2 separate regions of the Homo sapiens genome follow, and region 1 is linked to region 2. The links are contacts of gene promoters, found by promoter capture Hi-C in blood cells and fetal thymus (Javierre and others, 2016). All regions are on one chromosome and are shown on one strand. The core of a region is centred on a gene start or on the middle of the fragment in contact, and the rest is flanking DNA. Distances in the headings are between cores, read along the strand shown.

Evidence for each region. The method cuts DNA at HindIII sites, captures the fragments that hold promoters and counts their contacts. A CHiCAGO score of 5 or more calls a contact.
Region 1: the fragment with the promoter of TET2 here is called in contact with the fragment with the promoter of DNAJB14 in region 2 in 1 of 17 cell types (neutrophils); the score reaches 5.5 in neutrophils.

The regions. Positions count from the first base shown.
Region 1 is chr4:105,144,039-105,150,587 of GRCh38, reverse strand. TET2 (tet methylcytosine dioxygenase 2) reads right to left here and starts at 3,712. Exons shown (of 11, transcript NM_001127208.3): 1 at 3,609-3,712. LOC124900868 reads left to right here. Exons shown (of 3, transcript XM_047416559.1): 2 at 3,627-5,093. The coding sequence ends at 4,315. RefSeq lists silencers at 2,738-2,807, 3,771-4,450 and enhancers at 3,138-3,187, 3,531-3,700. The HindIII fragment of the contact is 4,110 bases long and covers 3,484-6,549 here.
Region 2 is chr4:99,942,828-99,950,004 of GRCh38, reverse strand. It overlaps DNAJB14 (DnaJ heat shock protein family (Hsp40) member B14), which reads left to right and starts at 3,387. Exons shown (of 8, transcript NM_001031723.4): 1 at 3,387-3,566. The coding sequence starts at 3,434. It overlaps H2AZ1 (H2A.Z variant histone 1), which reads left to right. Exons shown (of 5, transcript NM_002106.4): 2 at 265-342; 3 at 619-732; 4 at 1,065-1,194; 5 at 1,482-1,917. The coding sequence ends at 1,543. RefSeq lists silencers at 100-149, 230-319, 3,124-3,783 and enhancers at 940-989, 471-1,076, 3,954-4,003. The HindIII fragment of the contact is 11,087 bases long and covers 1-7,177 here.

The DNA.
Region 1 (6,549 bases), core at 2,463-4,962, 5.2 Mb before region 2:
TATTCTATTGCTGCTGGCTTTGGTACCATTACTATCCTTAAGAACTACTGTGCAATGGTAGAATAATCATTGACAAAGTGTTATTCTGATGAACAAATACTGACAGCTGGTCCAAAGTTTTAGCCTGTTCCCAAGGTAGGAAACAATAACATTAAAACAGTCTACATGGTTATTTATATAACAAAGATGACTCTTTCCAGCGATTTGAAATTGCTAGATAAGACTATGAAATTCTATTAAAACAATAACAACAAAAACAATTTAACTTGCATTAGAAGCAATTAAAGCATAAAAAGTAGATCTAAGATTTTCTAAATATTAGATATTCTAAAATATTGACATTATACAATGTCTAGCATCCGTAACTTTTGAAGATATTTTATTTCAAGGTAATTTCATAAGAATTCATAAGAATTTACCTACTCAGACTTTGGGCAGGATGGAAAATAGAGTTTCTGTGAGGTGTGCCTATGAATCATAAGAAGGGCTTCTTAATGAGGTCAGTAATTAAGGAAATACATTTCAATAGTGACATTTGACTTACAACATTGTTTGGGGGTGGAGTCTTAGAAGAATTGATAGGGAACTTTTAACTTCAACAAGTGAAACTAAAACATTAACTCCAGTTGTTGTTACCTAATACAAGACCAGTGCCCAATAAGGACTTTGGAATTCTTTCATAACAACTCCTTGGCAGGTGCACTTCACTTGTTCTGGAAGTGATATTCACTTGCCAATGTCTAGTAGGACCATGTGCCACTGCCTCAAAATCATATCAATTCCTCCGGCTTCTGGCATAAACTGGCACATCAGACCTAATTAAAGCCTTAAGAAGAGTTTGGCAAATATGACAATTTAAACAAAGCAAGGGATTTCTCTCACTGCAACTTAATTTCTCATTGATGATTAGTTCAATAAGAAAATAAGCAAAACAATGTCATAGTTAAGAAAAGCTATCTATCTTGTTATTGTCCATTATCATGTTCCTAAAATTCAATAACCCAAGACAGTCCTATGGAATTTTTGGAGCACCTAGGTAGTATGATCACATATATGGTAAAGAAAGAACTGAGGTTATGTCTTTTATTGTAAACTACCCCATACTTATTAAAATAATTTCTCTTTTCCAACAAAGGATAAAGTGACTAACATACACATCTCTTCCTTATAATCACTGAAATACTTTATACAGTATTAATTAGCAGCTATTTTCAGTATAAAAGTAGGATGCACAAAATAACAAGAATCTAAATTTGATGACAGGAAAAAACAAGCCTTCATAGTTGTATTCAAAATTATTAACCAATGTAGTTATTCTTATTTATTGAGTGGAAAATGTTGTATCTATTATTAGTTGAGTAGCCTGAAGACAGTATATACCACAACATTTGAAAAGTTGTCCCCAAAAAGTAAATATTAGTTTGTTAGCAAAAGGAATTGTTTTTAATTCTGAATTGCTGGAATAATTAACCATAGTTTTCTCGATAGTTTACCATGAACAGCATTAATGGTAAAATCCTAATTTTTGTTTTAATTTTAGGGCAAATAAGAACTAACCAATGAACCGTTTCTATTCCACAGAGATGAGTAATGCTTCTCCCTTGTAATCATGTGAAAGAACCCCACGTATCAATGATTAAAGCAAACTACATTAAATTAACAAAGATCAAAATAGAAAGTTACAAAGTGAACTATCGAGGACAAATAGTTTTGGAAATTCGACTTATGGAGAAATATCTATTATTGTGTTTTTCCTTCTATCCATTTTTTAATCCTATAAATTGTCTTCTAAACTTCAGTTTGATTATCCAACACTTCATTAACCGTTCTCTGCTTATTAACATTTAAAAAAATCAATATTTATTGTGTTTAAATTTATATTCTATTCCAAACATTATTAAGCACACATACAAACATGTAAAAGAACATAACTCCCCTTAGTATTTCAACTTTCCATTAAAATGCAAATGTAATGATTTCATTAGCCAGGCAACAATACCCACAGTATCACACCAAACCAAACCAATGTCTTTTCTCTGTGAATCCCAACTTCCCTTAAGATACAATCTTATTCCTATGATGGATCATTTGTTGATGAATATCTTTGAATTTGGGTTTCCCATTATAATCCCTGACTGAAGGGGAAAAAGCACAATGTGTGATTTGAGATATTAAATTCATGAATGTATTCCACTCCCTAGACACGTAAATATATAAATATTTCACTAAATTTTATGCACTAAATTTTACCGCTGGAAAATAAGCCTTTTCTCAATTCTTAAACATTAGATGAAGAAGGGAGAACTCCCTCAATGTAATTAAAAGTATATCATGAGGGGAATAACCAGCAAATAACACTTATATTTCATTTTCGGCCTTTCCAGGAGTCTATCCAGGCCACACTTCATTATGTCATAGGTAGAAAACTCTCCATACAAACCCTATTAGCTTAATAAAACTAGACAAGCAGTCCCAGTGAAAAGATTCAGCAAGATGCGAGTGAGGTGTGTGTGTGTGTGTGTGTGTGTATGTGTATGAGAGAGAGAGAAGAAAGAGTAGAGAGGAGACACAGAGAGAAAGGCAGAGAGATGAAAGACCAAAGAGAGAAGCCAAAGAGAAATTTGGATGGGACTGTTATAAATCTGCTCTTCACTTCTTTGCTGGGATTGGGTTTCATTTCTTTAGGCGCCCCTGACCTTGCAGTCTTGCAACTCCAACGCTGCGCTCCCCACCCCCTCCCGCCCCCTCCCCGGGCCTGCGCCTGCCTTTGTGTCTGCCTGTCACTTACCAAGGAACCAAACGAAGCTGATTCGGGAGAAGCACAAAGCCGGGACACAGATTTGTCCATAAATTCTCTTACATACATTCCCCAGGCTGGAAGGCTCAGCCCAGCGCTGACTTATGTACCTTGAGAAAAGTGAGTTCTGGTCTTGTTTGGGGAACCAGAGAAACTATTCTTTCCTCTTTCACTCAGCGCCGCTAACAAAACGCGCGGACTTAAGGAAAAAAAAAACCCACTCAGTGTACTCCAATTCCACTCCCTGTGACATTCACTTCGTACAGCCCCCTAAAGGGGGATAAGAAGGTAGGAGGAGGCAGACACAAACCCAGACCCAGACCCTACAGCTGATAAAAGGGTCGAAAAACACCCTATCAGTGTTCTCTCTGAGGTTGTTCAGGATAAACGGGAGACTCGTTTCACTTACACGAAAGAAACAGGGGAAGAGGATTAAAGGGAAAAGTAGTGCCCCCAAAGCTGAACTATTTTAGAAAGGAAAGCAAATTTAAAAATCACTTTTCTGAGGATTAAAAAAGGCCGGGAAACCGGCTCGTCGGAGGCACAAAGGTAAGTTTTCTGGGAGATGAGGGGACGAGCATTAGGAGGAGAGAAGAGAACACAGAACTACAGGTTTAAAAGGGGTAGAGGGAATTAAAACTATATTTGTCAGCCATGTTGAAGAGGCTCCAGTAATTTGTGAAGCTTCCCTCTTCCCTCTTGGTATTTGTGGGTGACACTACAGGGTTTGCTCCCCAGTCCCTGGAAGCCCGAGAAAAAGCGAAGGGGAGAAGAAAGGGAGAGTTTCGCGGCATAAGAGAAGCGCTCTGACCTCGTTCTCGTCCCTCAGCCTTGCAGCAATCCAGCAGTTGCAGTCGGGTCTCCTTTCTAACAAATCCTAAAGGGCAGCCATCTTGCTTCCTTCTGCTTCTCTACGAAAGCAGCCTAGCCTCCGCATCAATATTCATAAGGCAGTTTGACGTCTGTTCTCATCACTCAGCGGGGCCGGCGTCTCGGGGCGGCCGCGCCGAGGGGGCGGACGTGACTTGCATGCGAGCGGGACCCGGGCGCGCGGCGCTCGCGAGGAGGCGGCGGCGGCCGCCCAAGCTCTCGCCGCTGCCACTGCCGCTACCGCCGGCTCTCCTCCTCCGCCCGGGCCTCCTCCTGCTCCGCCCCGGCCTCCTCCCGCTCCGCCCCGGCCTGCGCCGCCGCCCTGGGGCCCTCAGCCCCGGCTCCCAGGGAATTAGCCCCCCGCACCGGGCGTCCAGCACAAAGGCCGGCGGCACCTGGGGCCGTACAGCGGGGCGCGCAGTGGAGACCTGGGCTGCCCTCACGCCGTGCAGTGGCGCGGGGGGAGTGGTGCGCCCGGACCAGCGCGGAGTAGGGGCCAGGGCTGGCGAGCGCGGGGAAGGGTGCAGCCCTCGGGAACCCCGGGGACCTCGGCGGGTCTCCACCCCTGGGAGAAGAAGCAGAGCAAGCGCGAAGGTTGGGGGCGAGGTGGGAGGTTGGGATGGCACGGGTGCCTGGACAAAGACGTGACATCTAAGATTTCCCTTTGAAACTTTTTGCTGGTCTGCACTCCACCACCACTTCGAGGTCCCGCGCACACGCCCCCGCGCGCACCCACCTCCTCCGGAGTGTACCCGCACGTGCCCTCGCTCTGGCCCCCGCCTCCACCCACTGGCACCTCTCCCCGCACCACACCTCCGCTTGCGCCCACCTTACCCTCAGAGGCCCGCGTCTCTATCTCCCTTTAGATCCCGTTGCCCGCGCTCTCCTTTCCCTTTTCTGTCGCTTTAATCTCATTCAGCAGAAGCGCTCCCCTGTTTCACCGAGGGCATGCCCTTAGTGCTTTAGGGGCCTGTATTTTTAAAGACCCGACAAACTGGGAAATTGACCGAGTTCTGTTTCTCCCCGCCCCGGCCCACCTTCTGTTTACTTTAGCCACGTGGGCTGAGTAGAAGGGGGCGTCTCACAGATTGAAATAGGTTTCTCACTAGTGACCCCCTACTTCTCGCTAGGAGGAAATAAACCTGCACTTTCAAATGCTTAAGTTGCCTCTCGTAAGAGCCCTTACTTTGAAGTAGTTTCCCCCCGTACAATTAAGTAATGAAGAAACCGACCGATACAGAGCTAATTCCGAATGACGGATGCTTGATTTTCCCTGACATTCGGAGCTCTGTAACTATGCTCTTCCTTTGACCGGAGTTTTTCTCTATTGCCGAGTAGTGTTACTTCCCCCTTCTAATGCTCCTTTTTCTAATCATCAACTTTTTATTTGAAGATGAGATGAAGAACAAAGCCCATATGAGTCATAGTAAGTATCATATTACGTCAGATAGTCGTTTTTGAAATATTCCCTTCATCTTTTACATGTTCTTACATGACTGACGTTCAAATTTTAAGTGGGTATTTTGGTCACATCTTTTATGGGATCACTGCATGGTGATCACAGTACCCTTAAGTCAATACTAGTTATATTGTGTAACCACACTTTTTTTGGTCTGTAATTTTTTTTAAAAGCGAAGCCCTAATTTTACGAAATCGGAATATTTCCTCTTTGAAGAGTGTGAAAAAGGGAACTCCTTGCAAGTGTCGCATTGTTGCTAAGAAGAATGTTTAGTGGGTCCAATCAAACTTTGTTTATTCCATTTTGAAACAAAGTTGACTCAGATTTCAGATTTTGCACAAACTAAGGAAATAGTACATTTTCCCTTAAACATTTCAGGTGGGAATGACATTCCATGTTTTCTAGCTGTACACTAAAGCGTCACTTAGGTCTTGGAAATTGTTAATGCACTTTAAAATCTAAGCTGTTTGAAAGTTCTTTGTGATCTTTATTTCTTTCTTTCTTTTCTTTCCTTTTCTTTCTTTCTTGAGACAGCCTCTCTCTGTCACCCAGGCTGGAGTGCAGTGGCGCGATCTCGGCTCACTGCAACCTCGGCCTTCCGGGTTCAAGCGATTCTTCTGCCTCAGCCTCCGGAGTAGCTGGGACTACAGGCGTGCGCCACCACGCCCAGCTATTTTTTGTATTTTTAATAGAGACGGGGTTTCACCATATTGGCCAGGCTGGTCTGGAACTCCTGACCTCCCAGAGTGCTGGGATTACAGGCGTGAGCCACCGCGCCCGGCTTGTGATGTATTTTTCAAGTCCAGGAAATAAAGTTCTCTCAAGACCACAACATACATTTATACAGTGCACAGTATTGCAGAGTTGTTGAAACATGGGCTTTGGAGTTTTACAGAGCTGAGTGACTCTTAACTCTATCTTTTCCAGTGTGACCTTGTGCATTTTACTTAACTCTCTCGGTATCGGTTTCTTTCAATCTGTTCAACAACCTGTAAGACAGCAGAGTTGTGGTGAGTTTTTAATAAGAGCACTAGGTAAGTGCCCAGGTAGTTACTACTACTACAGTAACAAACCATTTACTTCTAGGAGTTATTTTGTTTCTGACTATAGAAGTATATAATTATATATCTTCTTACATTTAATAATATGTGGAAAATATTATATTAGCATGTGTTTAATATAAAAGTATCCGTAGGTTCCTTTAGTTATAACTGGGAAATGATCTTTCAGGTCACCTCCCTCTCATTTCTTCTTTGAAAACTGCTCTCTGTTGTAACAGGGTGTTCTTACCTATTTGGAATCATGTTTGGGTTGCAGTTGGTTTTACAACAGGCCCTGAACATTTTCTTGCCAACTTCTTTCTCTGCACCTCCACTCTACCCTTAACCATCATGACTTTTTAAAAGTTAAAATAAAATACATT
Region 2 (7,177 bases), core at 2,138-4,637:
TCGGATCTCGCGGCGGGCGGCGACGGTTGGGTGGCGCGCGCAGCGCCGCTGGGGGCCGGCGGGCGGAGGCGCGCGGCCGTGGCGAGCGCGCGGCGGGGGGCGAACGGGCGGGGTCGCCCCTGCGGCGCGCCGCGGGCCGGAGACCCCGGCAGGGTGCGGGGACGCGCTCGCGGCGGGACGCGCCGCGGTGGGGGATGGGCGCGCCGCCTTGGTAATTCTATATTCTCCGTTCCTCCTCCGCTCGCGGGCGTGTGCGCGCCGCAGGCTGGCGGTAAGGCTGGAAAGGACTCCGGAAAGGCCAAGACAAAGGCGGTTTCCCGCTCGCAGAGAGCCGGCTTGCAGGTCAGTAGTTGTTCGTGCAGTCTGGGAGTCATGATGTTTTTCTTTGCATTTCCTTTTTTGTTATTCATCGCTCTCGATGGGCGTTTTGTGTATGCGTGGGTGATGCGGTGTCGCGACTTGGGCTGCCCATACGATAAATATGGGGGGGAGGAATCACGTGTTTCGATGTCGGGACGCGTTGCTGCGCCCGTGCCCCTTGCTTTGGCGCGCATATAATTTCCCCATCTCTAGTTCTCATTTTTGTGCATTTATGTTTGTGTATGCTTAAAATTTAAGTTCCCAGTGGGCCGTATTCATCGACACCTAAAATCTAGGACGACCAGTCATGGACGTGTGGGCGCGACTGCCGCTGTGTACAGCGCAGCCATCCTGGAGTACCTCACCGCAGAGGTAAATGGGTGAACGCCTATAATCCGGAGAAGGTTTGGGGGGCGGGGAGGCGGCAAGAGGGAAGGAGGAAAGTGATGCAAGAAAACTCCCAGGCCCTGAACGCGGCGAGAGGCCTAAGAGAACGCTAGAGGGAGCTGGTGTTCAACAAGGATCCTACTGAGCTTGAGTTCTCTGCTCTTGGAATTAAAATTGCGTGCCCCCTGTATATCTTGCCAGTCAGATAGTGAGGAACGATTCCAGTTGGTAGATCTGCGTTTGTGAGGGTTTTATTCTGTTCTCTGAATCTTGGCCAAAGGAAAGTTGGAAGGCAACTGACAGATTCTGCCTTTTAGGTACTTGAACTGGCAGGAAATGCATCAAAAGACTTAAAGGTAAAGCGTATTACCCCTCGTCACTTGCAACTTGCTATTCGTGGAGATGAAGAATTGGATTCTCTCATCAAGGCTACAATTGCTGGTGGTGGTATGTTAACTTCTAACATTTTAAAAAATTTCTTCAGAGGAAGGAATTTTTTGCTGCTTTTAATTAGTTTTTCCAGGAGAGGAAATTTAAGTATATTTTCAATGATGGAAGTATGGTTGTATCATGAAATTTGATTTATATGTATAACTCAATGAATTTTTACTTCATACTTGAGCTGCATGTTTTTAAAGATACCTTTCAAGTTGAACAGTATACACTTTCTTGGTTTCAAATACTGTGATTTTTTAAAAAATCTTAAGTAGAATTAATTCCTGTCACTCTCCTAGGTGTCATTCCACACATCCACAAATCTCTGATTGGGAAGAAAGGACAACAGAAGACTGTCTAAAGGATGCCTGGATTCCTTGTTATCTCAGGACTCTAAATACTCTAACAGCTGTCCAGTGTTGGTGATTCCAGTGGACTGTATCTCTGTGAAAAACACAATTTTGCCTTTTTGTAATTCTATTTGAGCAAGTTGGAAGTTTAATTAGCTTTCCAACCAACCAAATTTCTGCATTCGAGTCTTAACCATATTTAAGTGTTACTGTGGCTTCAAAGAAGCTATTGATTCTGAAGTAGTGGGTTTTGATTGAGTTGACTGTTTTTAAAAAACTGTTTGGATTTTAATTGTGATGCAGAAGTTATAGTAACAAACATTTGGTTTTGTACAGACATTATTTCCACTCTGGTGGATAAGTTCAATAAAGGTCATATCCCAAACTAGTTGTGTATTAAATTTGCTTGGTTGTAATAGGAACTTGTTTTGAGTATCTCATCTAGCAGCAATAACTAAGCACATTTCTTTGTGACTGAACTGTCAAATCTGTAGATCAACAAAGTGAGATAGCCCAAGTATATTTTTTTAATGTTATATGAGCTACTAAAGTTTTAATTTAAAAAGTTGGCAGGAGCTGGAGTGGGATTGTCAGTTTCTTAGGCTAAGTGTGACCATTTCAGTTTGTACATTGGCTTCGCTTGCTGTGTGACAGCACTGCACTAGTATGCTGTTAGCATGGTGGACTTGGGGAGGGAGAGAATAGGTAGGAATGTCCTGTATATCCACAGAATGAACTCCGAATTTAAACTTTAAAGATAATAGTGCTACGTGCCAGGCCCTGCTTTGAAGTCTGAAGTTGTTAAGTACTCAGTAACATCATTGGGGATATACTATCTCCATTTTATCGAAGAGAAGCAGGGTTTCTTATTTGAAAGTACCGAGTTATGGTAGTTAGCAGAATTAACAGCTTGGCTCACAGCATTATGTAAAAATTGTTACCTTGTGGTTGGGTTGAGCAGGTCATTTTGACAGTTTGTCATGTTTTTTTTTAAAAAATTTGCACATAGCAAACATTCCCCCCACCCCCACCGCGAAGACTAACAAGACACGGTACTTCCAAGTGGTAATGTTATCCAAATGGGACGGAAAAGGTGAAATCAAAAGTTTGCTTTCGTTAGGGCAGCCCCTGAGGGGCTGATTCCTGCCTTGTTTTGGCTACACAGGATTAAGGTCGATCTGCACCACTCGTTGCAAGCTACAAATTAAACTGCTTTGTACTTTGGATAGCCAGACATCCGGGTCAGAAAAAATGTAGCTGAAATAAGGCTGCCATACAAGCCCTAAGATTAGGTTCAAACGACGCTCTAACGTGTCCCGGAAGTGCTGAGACTGGACTGACACCTTGGTCCTCACCTGACCGCATCCTCCCTCGCTTGAGGGGCCCAGAGGCGGAACCTCCAAGTCCTGGCAATTTTACTGAAAACGAGTGTCCCCTTCCCGGACCCTGTCCTCCTGGCCTGAGCTGCGAGGGCCTCGCCTGGAGGTCACAGGGCACGGCGCTACCAATGCCGGCAATCGGGTCCCGGGCGGAACCCCTCCCCGCGATGGGCAGCCCGGCTGCTATCGTCCGCCTCCCGGGCAGGTCCGCTTCGAGCCTGCTGGCGCCGTGCGCGGACCACCGAGTCAGCTCGGACGCCCCGGCCCAGGAGGTTGGTCCTGGGCCGGGACGGATGCGGATCGCGCCCTAGGGGCCCGCGGGGGGCGGGGAGGCCGCCGTGAGGAGGCGGAGCTGCGAGGCCCGCCCGTCCGCCCGGGCCGTCGCAGCCGCTGCCGCGGTCCCCTGCGCTCCTCCCCGCTGCCGCCGCACGCCCCCAGCCGGTCCCGCCTCGCCTCCTCCGCGGCGGCGGCTTCCGCCCTTCTTAGCTGCGCTGCCGGAGGAAACGGAAGAAGGAGCAAGCTATGGAGGGGAACAGGGATGAGGCTGAGAAATGTGTCGAGATCGCCCGGGAGGCCCTGAACGCCGGCAACCGCGAGAAGGCCCAGCGCTTCCTGCAGAAGGCCGAGAAGCTCTACCCACTGCCCTCGGCCCGCGGTGAGACCTCAGCGTCCCTTCTCTTCCTGCCCAATCCCCAGACCACCGCGTAGCCCGCCCCTGCCCCCACCTCGGCCCCTCCTGGAGGCCTGCGGGGCCCCCGGCCTGTCTGAGCCAGCCCCAGCCCCAGGCCCGGTGGGGAGCATCCCGACACACCCCCGCCCTGGCCCCAGCCCCGGCTCCGGGCTGGGGCTCGGGGAATGCTGCGCGAGGTTCCTCTGCACCCGCCTGCCCGCCGGCTCCGCGTTCCGCTGTCCTAAATGTCCGGGTTTCATTCTCCCTGGAGGAGACTTGTCTGGTCCCGTCTTACCACAGTGAGGCTTTATTTGTATCTGTGTTGTTTATGTGGCCCCCTCCCTCCCCATTCTCAGTCCTACATAAGGCCTAGGCCCCTATCGAAGTGAGAGGAATGGTGTACTCTAGTGGCTAATCTCAGATTCCATGTTTCTGAGATCTGTAGAAAACTGTTCCCAAAGCAAACATCGAATACCTGAGATGACATTGCTTTTCCCTGGGAGAGAGTTCCTTTAAAAGAGAAGAGCACACTTTCGGCAAGAATGGTCAAGAGTCAGTAATGATTGCTGAAGAGTATCTGATTTGATAACACCATGATTATCGACGAACCAAATCTCTGAGGAATATGGTACTGGGTTTCCTTTAGTTGAAGTCAGCTTATTTATTTTCCTACTCGATAGGCTTCGGAGTAATAATAGCCAACATTTATTGAGCACAAAGTGCCAATAGTTGTGCCCAACATTTTGCATGGATTATTTCATTTATTCCTCAGAACAATTCTGTGTAGAGGTGCAGGATTCATTTGACCAGGTTTACCCACGTGGAAACAGACTTTCTGATAATTAATGAATGAATTAGCGAATGAATGAAAGTATCTTACCCAAGGTCACACAACAATTAGTAGCAAAGTCAGAATAGTAGCTGAACTTTCAGACTCGAAAAGGCCTTTAACCGCTACACTGTTGCCTTGCCATTAGTATTTCCAGGTTAAGAAGAAAGTTATCGATAGATTCAATTAATTGTAGAAAATTATTAATGAAAATATGGGGCCACTTGTTTTGTTGTCTCTTAAATTTTTTTCTCTACGTCGTTGAAGCCCTGTGCTCTTTGCTTTTCTCTCTATCCTTTCCATTACATTGCCTTCTAACACTATACCCATGAGGACAGGAAAATAAAATGAAAGAAAAGAGTTAATAATTTTTTAAGTTGTGGTTTAAAAACCTGCCAAATTTACGGTCTTAACTATTTTTAAGTGTGCAGTCCATTAGTGAAGTATATTGACATTGTTGTGCAAGGACTCTTCAGAACTTTTTCATCTTACAACACAACTGTGTACTAATCAGACAGCTCCCTACCGCCCCGTCTCCTAAGACCCTGGCAACTACCATTCTACTTTGTGTTTCTGTGAATTTAACTACTTTAGTTACCTCAGATAGGTAGATTCATGCAGTATCTTTTTGTGACTGTCTTACTTCACTTAGCATAATGTTCCCAAGTTTCATTTATGTTGTAACGTGAAGAATTCCTCTTTAAAAAAATACTGATTAGGCTGGGCGCGGTGGCTCACGCCTGTTATCCCAGCACTTTGGGAGGCCGAGGCGGGCGGATCATTTGAGGTGAGGAGTTCGAGACCAGCCTGGCCAACATGATGAAACGCCATCTCTACTAAAAATACAAAAAAATTAGCCAGGCGTGGTGGTGCATGCCTGTAATCCCAGCTACTAGGGGATGCTGAGGCAGGAGAATCGCTTGAACTCGGGAGATGGAGGTTACAGTGAGTCGAGATGGCAACACTGCACTCCAGCCTGGGCGACACAGCGAGACTCCATCTCAAAAAAACAAAAAAAAAAAGACCAAAAAAAAGCTACAGTAAAAAAACTGAATAATATTCCATTGTATATATACACCACATTTTGTTAATCCATTCATCTGTCTATGGACATTTGGGTTCCTTTCACCTCTTGGCTATTATGAATAATGCTGCTATGAACAAGGATATGCAAAGAGCCTGCTTTCAATTATTTTGGATACCAAGAAGTGGGATTGTAGGATCATACAGTAATTCTATTTTTAATTTTTGAGGAACCACAATACAGTTTCTGTAGCGCCTGCACCATTTTACTTTCCCACGAACAGTACATAGGGTTTCAGTTTCTCACCATCCTTGCCAACACCTATTTTCTGTTTTTGTTGGTTTTGATAGTACCCATCCTTGAGTGGGAGGTGATATCTCATTGTGGCTTTGATTTGCATTTCTCTGATGATTAGTGATGTTGAGCATCTTTTCATATGCTTATTGGCTAGTTTTATAATATCCCATTTTTGGAGAAAATGTCTGTTCAAGTCCTTTGCCCATTTTTAAATCACATTACTTGTTTTTTTTTTGTTGAGTTGTAGGAGTTCCTTATTTATTCTGGATATTAACCCCTTATCAGATATGTGATTTGCAGATGTTTTCTCCTATTTATATGTTGCCTTTTCATCACTTTGTTGATGGTGCTATTTGATGCACATAAGTTTTTAAGTTTGTTGTAGTGCCATTTTTCTATTTTTGCTTTGTTTTTTTGTGCTTTTGCTGTCATATTCAAGAAATCATTGCCAGGAGTTAATTATTTTTGAATCCTCCCCTACTGTTGAATATGATTTCATTTAGTCATTATCTAGTCCTAGAGGGACAGTTTTAACATTAAGTGAGTAGGCAGTCTAGACAGAATAACTTGGCTTTTGAAGTCTGACTCCACCTACTAGCTTGTAACCTTATTTTTGAGCAGGGTAGAGAACCTCTCTAGCCTTTAGCTTTTTCGTCTGTAAAATGGAGACAATGTACTGATCTCATAGTGCTGTTGTGAGGATTAAATGGGTTAATACAGGTAAAGCATTTAACAGTAAGCACTCAATTAATTTTGGTGTCATCCCCATTTTACAAGTGTGAAGCTCTGAGAATTCTTAAAACCCACCCAAATGTACACACTATCATGCTTCTGTCATGCAAACAATTTGAATAAATCTCCTAAAAGATATTATAAGATACCAAAGCACAACACAGTTTGTTGCTCTTAAGGACATGAATGTTGGAAAAATTAAGAAATGTAAGGGTGAAAGTTGGTAGTACAAATGTAAGGCAGTATGTGATTACCAAATAAAGTGATAGGGGATAACTGTGTAGTCCAAAAACCTTAGTTCAGATGCAGATGTTTTCTCTGACTCCTTTTTCACCAGTGACAAATTACTTAACTCCTCTGAGCCTTCTTTAGTTATATGTAAAGTGAAGATGTCATCACAGGATTTATGTGAGCTGAAATAAAGTTATATGCCAGTACTCAGAGAAGTGTATTTTATATAGAACATTCTAGAAGATGTTTATTGGTACAATTTAAGAATTCAGGAGAGAGAAAGATCTAGGACATTTGTGTGAGATCCTGATAAAATATTTCATATAGAAGGAAGTCGAAGCTATTGGTTACAATTAGATTTTAAAATTTTAGCCCTGAATTTCACTTATACTAGTCCACCACCAAATTCTTATAACTCAGAAAGTTGACTGAATGTTCGTCTGGATATGCTTAAACTAAGAGAGGCAAAAGAAAAGATCACAT